3 separate regions of the Homo sapiens genome follow, and all the other regions are linked to region 1. The links are contacts of gene promoters, found by promoter capture Hi-C in human tissues and cell types (Jung and others, 2019). All regions are on one chromosome and are shown on one strand. The core of a region is centred on a gene start or on the middle of the fragment in contact, and the rest is flanking DNA. Distances in the headings are between cores, read along the strand shown.

Region 1 (2,700 bases), core at 70-2,569:
TAGTTACAGAAGCTCTGCTAGCATGCCCACTCTAGTCTTTCTAATTGAGTTACCAAAGAAAAGCTGATGACTATGCCCTATTGACAACACCACCTGTGAACATAATAAAATGGTTGTTTTAAGCCACCATATTTTGGAGTAATTTATTACATACGATAGCAACCCAATGCTCAATCTAACAAGTAGTATTATTTGCTTTTTAATCTGTGCAATTTAACTACTTTGATAAAATTTAGAGTTAAACTAAAAAGGAAAATGGTTGTGAATTCTTCTTGGCTTATAGACTTTGCTATTCTACTTTCCCTACCCAGAAAATTCACCTTTCTCCCTAAATCACTGGCTTTCAAACTTTTTAAGGTTTGAAATACAGTAAGAAATACATTTTACAAACAAGCCCTAGTGCACACATACACGCATATATACAATTAAAAGCTCCATAAAGCAGTACTTTACTAACTAACACTAAATTTACTTACATGCGCTGATATTTCCAATCTATATTGTTTCTTTTTTTTAAGTTTAAAGAGATTTCCTTGCTTACAAATGGGTCAAGACCTCCACTAATGGGTCCCACACAATCCCCTTTCCAGTTGAAAAACACTGTCCTAAACCTAAATCATTCTTCAAGGCCTTACCCAAGTCCGAAAAAGAAGCCTTTATTGACCACTCCATTCTCAGCTTTCTTGAAATTCCTGTAATTTATTAAATTCCATTTTTTATCTCAGTAGTAAGAATATTGCATTTTCTGTACTTGAATTTAACATGCTTTACTTGATATCGTGAGCACTTCTAGGGCATTGTAATGTCCTTTATCTACCACTTGATAAATTCAGAGTAGTCAATAAAACATTGCTCAACATTTGACCATTGTGTTTTAAAATCTTAGTTGTTAGAGTGCACTTCCGTTTGCGCATTGTTTGGGGAGAGGCACGGACAAATGTTCTAATAACTTATCCACATATTATACTTCAAAGTGGAAAAACACAAAGTACTCTTAACTCTATATGCGTGTTTTTATGCAAACTAAATCATTAAGATACAAATGATTTTTCTAATAGCTTTCATTACCACACAGCACACGAAATAATGATATTGATATAGCCACGAAAGACTAATGTAACCAAGTTCTCACAATCAAAATATCTTTGAGGTGGGCAAAATGCAAACTTTTCTCTGGGATCAACATTTCTTCACAACTCACTGCAACTACGCCTTGACAGTATGTTTCGAGAACCGCTTCCCAATTTTGTTGTCCCAGCAAGAATCGGGAGGAAACTGGGTGAAAGGCTGCGAGGCTTGAGGCGGGTCCCGGACGAACGCGGCCCTGCCCCTCGCCGGAGCCTCTCGGGAGAAGTGCGACACCGCCGCTGATTGAGAGGCTGAGGCGGAACTTCCCGTCTAACCCCCCCCCCGCTGTCGTCCCAGCCTGTTGCTTAAGCCGCGCGGTGTGCGGTGTGCGCGGCCCCTGCCTTAGCAACGACGCTAGTAACTGCCTGGCTCCTCCCTCTGGTGTCTCCCGGAAAGCGCTCCGTCTGGTCCGTGCGCGATCACGGCCCGGCGCGTGGCTCGGGCTCGGGCGGAGCTGGAGACGTGTGGAGCTGTTCGAGGACTCGCGGGTGTGCAGGTCTGAGTACCACTCCGATCCCTGGTGGAGGTCCCCGCGCCTCTCTGGAGACCAGTGGTCTGGCCCCAGAGGTGCGGCCGCGGGAAGTGGACATTCTTTGTCAGGACCCTAGCGGAGGTCGCGCTGGGTGTCGCCTGTGAGGGGGATCCTCGGTTTCTGCGCGGTCTCTTGCTTTTTTTAGGATCTTGCGGGCCCTTTGGGAAAAAGGTTTCCAAATTTTTCCTCAAAAAAAAAATTATTTTTCCTACCAATGATTTTCGGTGCATTCCGCCCCAACGAAAAGTATGTCCTGGCAAAGTCAGTTCCCTAGGAACCCCATACTTTATTTTATTTTATTTTTAGTATTTGGAGTGGTTTGTGGGGGTTTGGTTATCACGGAAGGGGAAGCGTAGTACAGACGTAGAATTAGTGATGCCATGCAGTGTATTTAAAATATTGAGGTTGTGGTTACATAATAAGCAAAAGAGCCTGTTTCTTACGTCTAAATTATTTATTGGGAATGTAGGACAAATAAGGAAGTATATTAACATTTTCAGTCGCCAGGCCCACAAAGTTGGATGGTAAAATCAATACTGTAGATCGCAGCATGTAAGGACTAACCCAGTGCACCATGAAAACGAAGGCAAGACAGTTTGTTACCATATGGCGGGTGGTGTGGGAGAGGCCATTGATCCTATATGAAAAAGGGTACTACTACCTTGGATTATGAAAAATGAATGTTGGACCTGTAGGTCCTATGTGACCAAGTTCTTAAAAACACTCTAAAGAAAATTGGAAGTGGTTTTTTTCTAATACTGAATTGGTCCACAATATAGGACAGGGGAGTCTGTATAGTGTTCCATTGGGAGGTGAGTCAGCTTACAATAATGGAAGAGGTAGAAGCTTTTTGTTATTATTTTGGAGAAAAAAAAATTGCCAGCCTGCCACTTGTGCTAGGCTGCAGACGGCCCATAAAGGTAGTTTGTCAGATACTTCAGTAGTGAGATGCTTACTGGATGTGTTTTGCAGAATGGTTTTGATTTAGTTAACAAGTGTTTGTTGAGTTCCTGCTGTTGCATAAGAATCAGGAATAGGTG
Region 2 (2,700 bases), core at 50-2,549, 570 kb after region 1:
GCTTGCATTAGAAAATATGTAGGCCAACCAGGCAGTGGCTCATGCCTGTAATCCCAACACTTTGGGAGGCCAAGGTGGGCGGATCACTTGAGGTTGGGAGTTCAAGACCAGCCTGGCCAAATTGGTGAAACCCCATCTCTACTAAAAATACAAACATTAGCCGGGCATGGTGACAGCCGCCTGTAATCCCAGCTACTCGGGAGGCTGAGGCAGGAGAGCCGCTTGAACCCAGGAGGCAGAGATTGCAGTGAGTTGAGATCACGCCATTGCACTCCAGCCTGGATGACAGAGTGAGACTCCATCTCAAAAAAAAAAAAAAGAAAAAAGAAAATATGTAGGCCCAAACATATCTACAAAAGACTCAAGAAAATAAAAGACATTAAATATCAACTAGATAGTTGACAGGTAGATTCACATCCAGAATTTCCTTTCAAATTTCTTTTTTCTTTCTACATCTTTAAGGGAAGAAAGGCTTCCATAGTGTGTCCAGATATGGTTGGCAAGCCGCTGGAAACTCAAGTCTGCCCAAATAACAAATCTACACCAACAGCCTAGAGGAGATGGAAGGAGATGGTGTAGGGCAGGGGCAATGGCCCTCCCTTCAGATTAGATGACTTGCATAAAAGGTCAGGAATCACAAACTACATGCCTGCAGAGGGCCAGCTGGGAACATGAATGAAGTACACATGAGGTGAAGTTGCTTGGACTGTGATCAAGCATGACACCAGCTTAATTACATTTCCTTTTATTATTAATTTTTCATGCTAATACCTGAGTACATTTTTCTTTTTTTTTAAATTTTTTTTTTGAGACAGGGTCCCACTCTGTTGCCCAGGCTGGAGTGCAGTGGCATAATCATGGCTCACTGCAGCCTTGACCTCCCAGGCTCAGGTGATCCTCCCACCTCAGCCTCCAGAGTAGCTGGGACTACAGGTGTGCGCCACCACATCCGGCTAATATTTCTTTGTGTGTGTATTTTTTTGTAGAGGTGTTTTGCCATGTTGCCCAGGCTAGCTGTAAGTACATTTTTCTTAAAAAAAAAAAAAAGAAGAAGAAGTACAGAAAAACTTAAAGTCCCTTTTGACCTACCATTTTCCCCTCATTAAGATGATTACTTGGAGGTGAAAAATAAGAAAAAAAAAAGACTGTTGCTAAGTCCTATCTACTCTACCTACCAGATATCTCTTAAGTACATTCACTTCTCTCTACCCACACTGCTGCCTACACAGTGTAGACAAGCATCATCTAACAGCTGGTCTCCCTACCTCTTCTCCCAACCTTATTCCCCTCCAACTCTACATTCCAGTCAGCTTTAACCTCTTTTAGTTACTCAGGCCCCAGGCTGCGTTGGCTCTGGGCCTTTGCATAAGCCGTTCCACTGCCCAGACTCAGGCTTAGTCAGTCCCAGCTGATCTTCATCTCCACCGTCTGCTCATCTTTCAGGTCTCAGTTTACAGGGCACTTCTTCTAGGTCGTCTTTCTGCCCCCCACCACCTGCTCCCCAAATACCTTCTCCTTCCCCTGTTGTGACACCTGTGGCAATTTATTTTGATTTTTGTTTGTTTGTTTCTCCTCTATTAGACCTGGGCTCTATGAAAACAGGGAGAGCGTTTTGCTCACTGTCATATCCAGCATGTAGAGACCTGCCTGGCACACAGGGAACACTCTTTAAATAGATGTTGAATAAATGTTGGGAGGGAGGGAATGAGAATGGATCCAGGTAACTTATGAACGGATTGTTTGACTATGGACCCTGAGTCTCATGACAGGAGGAAAGAAAGGAGATTTCACAATTCTTTAGCAGTAGGAGTTGTTGTTTTAAAATTTGCCTCTGTGGGCCCTTACTTGTAAGCAAGGCATACTTGTATCTCAGAAATTATTTCATCTTACATTATGTTTCATTAAAGGTTTATCAACTGCCAGATCTGAATCCTTTAAGCAGCTTTACCTTATTCCTCTGTGTCTTCCACACTAATATCATATTTTGTGCAAAATTTTTTCAATTATAAACATTTATTGAGCACTTATCTAGTAGTTCTGGGGGTACAAAGATGATTTGATTATTATCTTAATTTCAAAGATCTCCCTGTCTAATAGAGGAGAAAATGAATTAAACCACATCCACCAGGCATGGTGGCTCACACCTGTAATCCCAGCATTTTGAAAGGCTGAGGTGGGAGGATCACTTGAGCTCACAAGTTTCAGATCAGCCTGGGCAACGTAGCGGGACATCATCTCTACAAAAAGTTAGCTGGGCATGGTACTCCTGTAGTCCCAGTTACTTGAGAGGCTGAAATGGGAAAATCACTTGAGCCCAGGAGGTTGACGCTGCAGTAAGCCATGATCACGCCACTGCACTCCAGCCTGGGAGACAGAGCAGGACCCTGTCTCTAAAGAAAAATTAAAAAATTGAACCCTATCATACTGTGTATAAGCGCCCTGATAATTGTAAATACGGGCTCCTATGGGAGCTGTAGAAGGGAGCAGCTAACTTTGCAGAGGGAGGGAAGATAACAGAAAAGAAGTGCTACCTACACTGAGTCTTGAAGGATAAGCAGGAGTTTTCCAGGTGACCAGGGGGTGAGAGACCATGAAACAACCTGGGCAAAAGTAATGAGACGTGAGCATACAGGTACCTTCAGGGATTTTCCATAGATCAATGTGGTTAGAGGAAAGAGGGCAAGAGGTAGAGAGTAGGAG
Region 3 (2,700 bases), core at 145-2,644, 660 kb before region 1:
GGGCACGAATCAGGGGTTAGGGCGGTTGCCCTGTGTCCCACCAGGTCCTGCTGCGGTGGAGGTGCAGTCCCGGACCTACTTAAACTGGTTTCTGGGGAAGAGGGGCCGCTGGAACCTGGGTCCCGGCTTTCCTGGAGCTTCAGCCGAGGCACCTCTTTGGTACCCAGGCAAAAGTTTTTCAGACTCAGCAAAGTGGCCGGGTTGGCCAGCTTCATGCTTGCCATGCGGGGGATCAAGGTGCACAGTGGGGTGGGGCTCTCCTGCGACGGCAAGGTGGCATCTTCAGTCGGCAGGTGAGGTGCCAGGGCGGGGTGGGGAGGCTGCGGCGAGCCCTTGTTCCCGACCGAGCCTCCGGAGCTACCTTCGTCCAAGGACGTGATCGACTCGTTCCGAAAGCGGCTGTACTTGGCCCTGTGCAGCATCCCGGGGTGCCCGAAGAGTCCTACATACAGCACGAGTCCTGCCAGGCTGTCCTGGCCGCGTTCTCGCATAGCCTTGGCAGTGCTGAAACAGGATACTGTTGCATAAATCGCCTCGTCGTCTGGTAGATAAACGGTGCAGACATCAGATACCTCAACGCCCGATGCAACTCACAGCAGCCACCTCTCCAACTCTGCTCTCGAGCTCGCCCACCTCGGCTCCCGGCCCCTTAAGGGTGACAGCCCATGGGGGAAACGCCTCCCCTGCTCTGATTTCAGTCTCTCCCTGGCCCAGGCAGAGGCACCAGTGTTCTCGCCTTGGAATCCTTGTCGGGAGAGCCTAGACCCAGGCTCCCGGCGGCGCGGGTCGCTCACGGCCAACTCTTAGGCGCAGAACCCGGGCGAGCGCCGGTCGGGGGGCCCGCTGCATCACTAGCCTTGCAGGAGCCTAGTAGAAATATTTAGCACCCGACTCCCACCCTCACCCCAGCCTTCTGTTCTGCACACAGGAACTTTCGAACCTGCTCCCTTCGGCTCTCACAGGGCGGGGCAAATGACTGGCCTATTAACCCTTTATTTGTTCCAGTGATTGTTCATTTAAAAAGGAAAAAAAAATGTATCTATGAACCAAAGGCCCTTTTGCCTGGGTTCGTTGATTCCAAAGGCTGCCCTCTCTTGGAAGATCTTGTCTTGCATCCCGTTCTGGGCCACCAGCCAGGAGTACTACTGACGGGCGCTGCTCCGCATTGTTTCACTGACTTGTGATGGGTCCGTGTTCCTCAGATCCCCTCCCAGCCTGCCTACCCTCGCTCAGAGCTTCCCTCCCTCCTGGATTCCTCTCGGAGCTTTTTTCAGAAGCCCATTTGCAGCCGAAAGCTGAGATGTGCAGGATGATACGCAGCGTGTTGAAATTTTTATGAATGAACTTTGCCGAATGAATTTCTCTGTGTGTGTGCAAGCTAATAAATCTGTGAATGAAGCTGAGAATAGCTGTAATTGACTGACGGTCTCAGAGGTGCTTGGTTTTTATCCAATCAGGAGGCAGCTTGATGACTCATACACCATAAATATACTAAACTAGTAGCCGAGAGAAATAAAGCTAGCGGGAGAGGAGGGACGTATTTTATTTTGTGGTATCTGATGAATGAGTTAAAAGGAAAGGCAATCTTTACTACAGATCATTAGCCGGGGAGCAGCAGGTTAAAAGATCTATTTTCTTTCTTGTTGAGATGGCCGGGAGGGCAGAGCAGAAGAGCTAAAAATTAGACCCATTGTTACAGGGATATTAGGACATATGGTTCACAACTCCTGTGGGAAGCCATGATGCATTTTTCTTAGAAACATAGTTCTTTTTTTATTGATTGTTGGTTCCATCTTCCGTCTGGTGCGACTTCCTGTACCTATCAAATGCATCCTGAAGACATGATGACAACTGCAAAGGCTTAGCACACAGGAAGCCAAAACCAGAGCTGGGAAAAGGAAATGCAGGTTCTTCAGGAATGGAGAAGAGGAAACTGCTGAAACACTGGGGGTGTGGGGTGTCGGGGTGGGGTGGAAATCACACATAGGAAGAGATAAAGAACTCTCAGAAAAGATTGCATTACTCCGTGTCTCAAGGCTTTGACATCTGAAATTGTTCATTAATTAAAAAATTAAGACAAACTGGCAACCAAAGGAATTAAGGGTGCCACCTTCATTATCTTATTGTCCCTAATGCTGGATTAGGCTTATGTATATTCATGACTTTGGGAGCCTGAGCTCCCTTGGGATCCAAACACAGGTTCTGAATTAAATGGTTGAGAGTGACCAGTGAAAGCGGCATCCTCCTCCCAAGCTCCCTGGTCCCCCAGGGAAATAAAGCACCCATCACATCCTGTCTGCCAAGCCTGTTCAGACATTTCTTTCCCTGGAAAGGCCTTTCTGCATCTTCATAAATCTTCCCTTCAATCCTTGTTGACCTCCTTTTCCCTGCCCTACATCTCCTCCTGGCAAAACTGAGGGAAGTAGCTAAATCAGTTGGACCCCACATCCCTGGGGCTGAGGAGACAGGCTCTGGGCAAGAATATTTACCTCTCATTCCTCCTCATTCCTCATCTGCTTTCTTCCTCTCATTTTTCCTGCCTTCCCCTGGGTCCCTGGGTCCCTGTGTTGCTTCTGTTATGCTATGATGACCTCATTATATGCTCCCTTTAGAAAGTTACTTTACCTCTCCGTGCCTGAATGTCCTCATATGTTGGCAGCAGCCATCTAATGGGGTTGTTATGAGGGCTTACGAGGCCCA

The links. The method cuts DNA at HindIII sites, captures the fragments that hold promoters and counts their contacts. A contact is called where the count stands out against the background at its distance.
Region 2: a fragment that was not itself captured here is called in contact with the fragment with the promoter of FAM227B in region 1 in 1 of the 25 tissues and cell types used here (dorsolateral prefrontal cortex).
Region 3: the fragment with the promoter of SHC4 here is called in contact with the fragment with the promoter of FAM227B in region 1 in 1 of the 25 tissues and cell types used here (adrenal gland).

The regions. Positions count from the first base shown.
Region 1 is chr15:49,619,499-49,622,198 of GRCh38, forward strand. FAM227B (family with sequence similarity 227 member B) reads right to left here and starts at 1,320. Exons shown (of 16, transcript NM_152647.3): 1 at 1,202-1,320. DTWD1 (DTW motif tRNA-uridine aminocarboxypropyltransferase 1) reads left to right here and starts at 1,550. Exons shown (of 5, transcript NM_001144955.2): 1 at 1,550-1,624. RefSeq lists an enhancer at 1,662-1,781. The HindIII fragment of the contact is 10,713 bases long and covers 1-2,700 here.
Region 2 is chr15:50,191,755-50,194,454 of GRCh38, forward strand. The region is part of intron 1 of SLC27A2 (solute carrier family 27 member 2); the gene reads left to right. Among named protein-coding and RNA genes, the nearest start is that of SLC27A2, 11 kb to the left of the region's middle. The HindIII fragment of the contact is 7,424 bases long and covers 1-2,700 here.
Region 3 is chr15:48,962,525-48,965,224 of GRCh38, forward strand. SHC4 (SHC adaptor protein 4) reads right to left here and starts at 1,395. Exons shown (of 12, transcript NM_203349.4): 1 at 1-1,395. The coding sequence starts at 491. RefSeq lists enhancers at 1-371, 372-873. The HindIII fragment of the contact is 15,905 bases long and covers 1-2,700 here.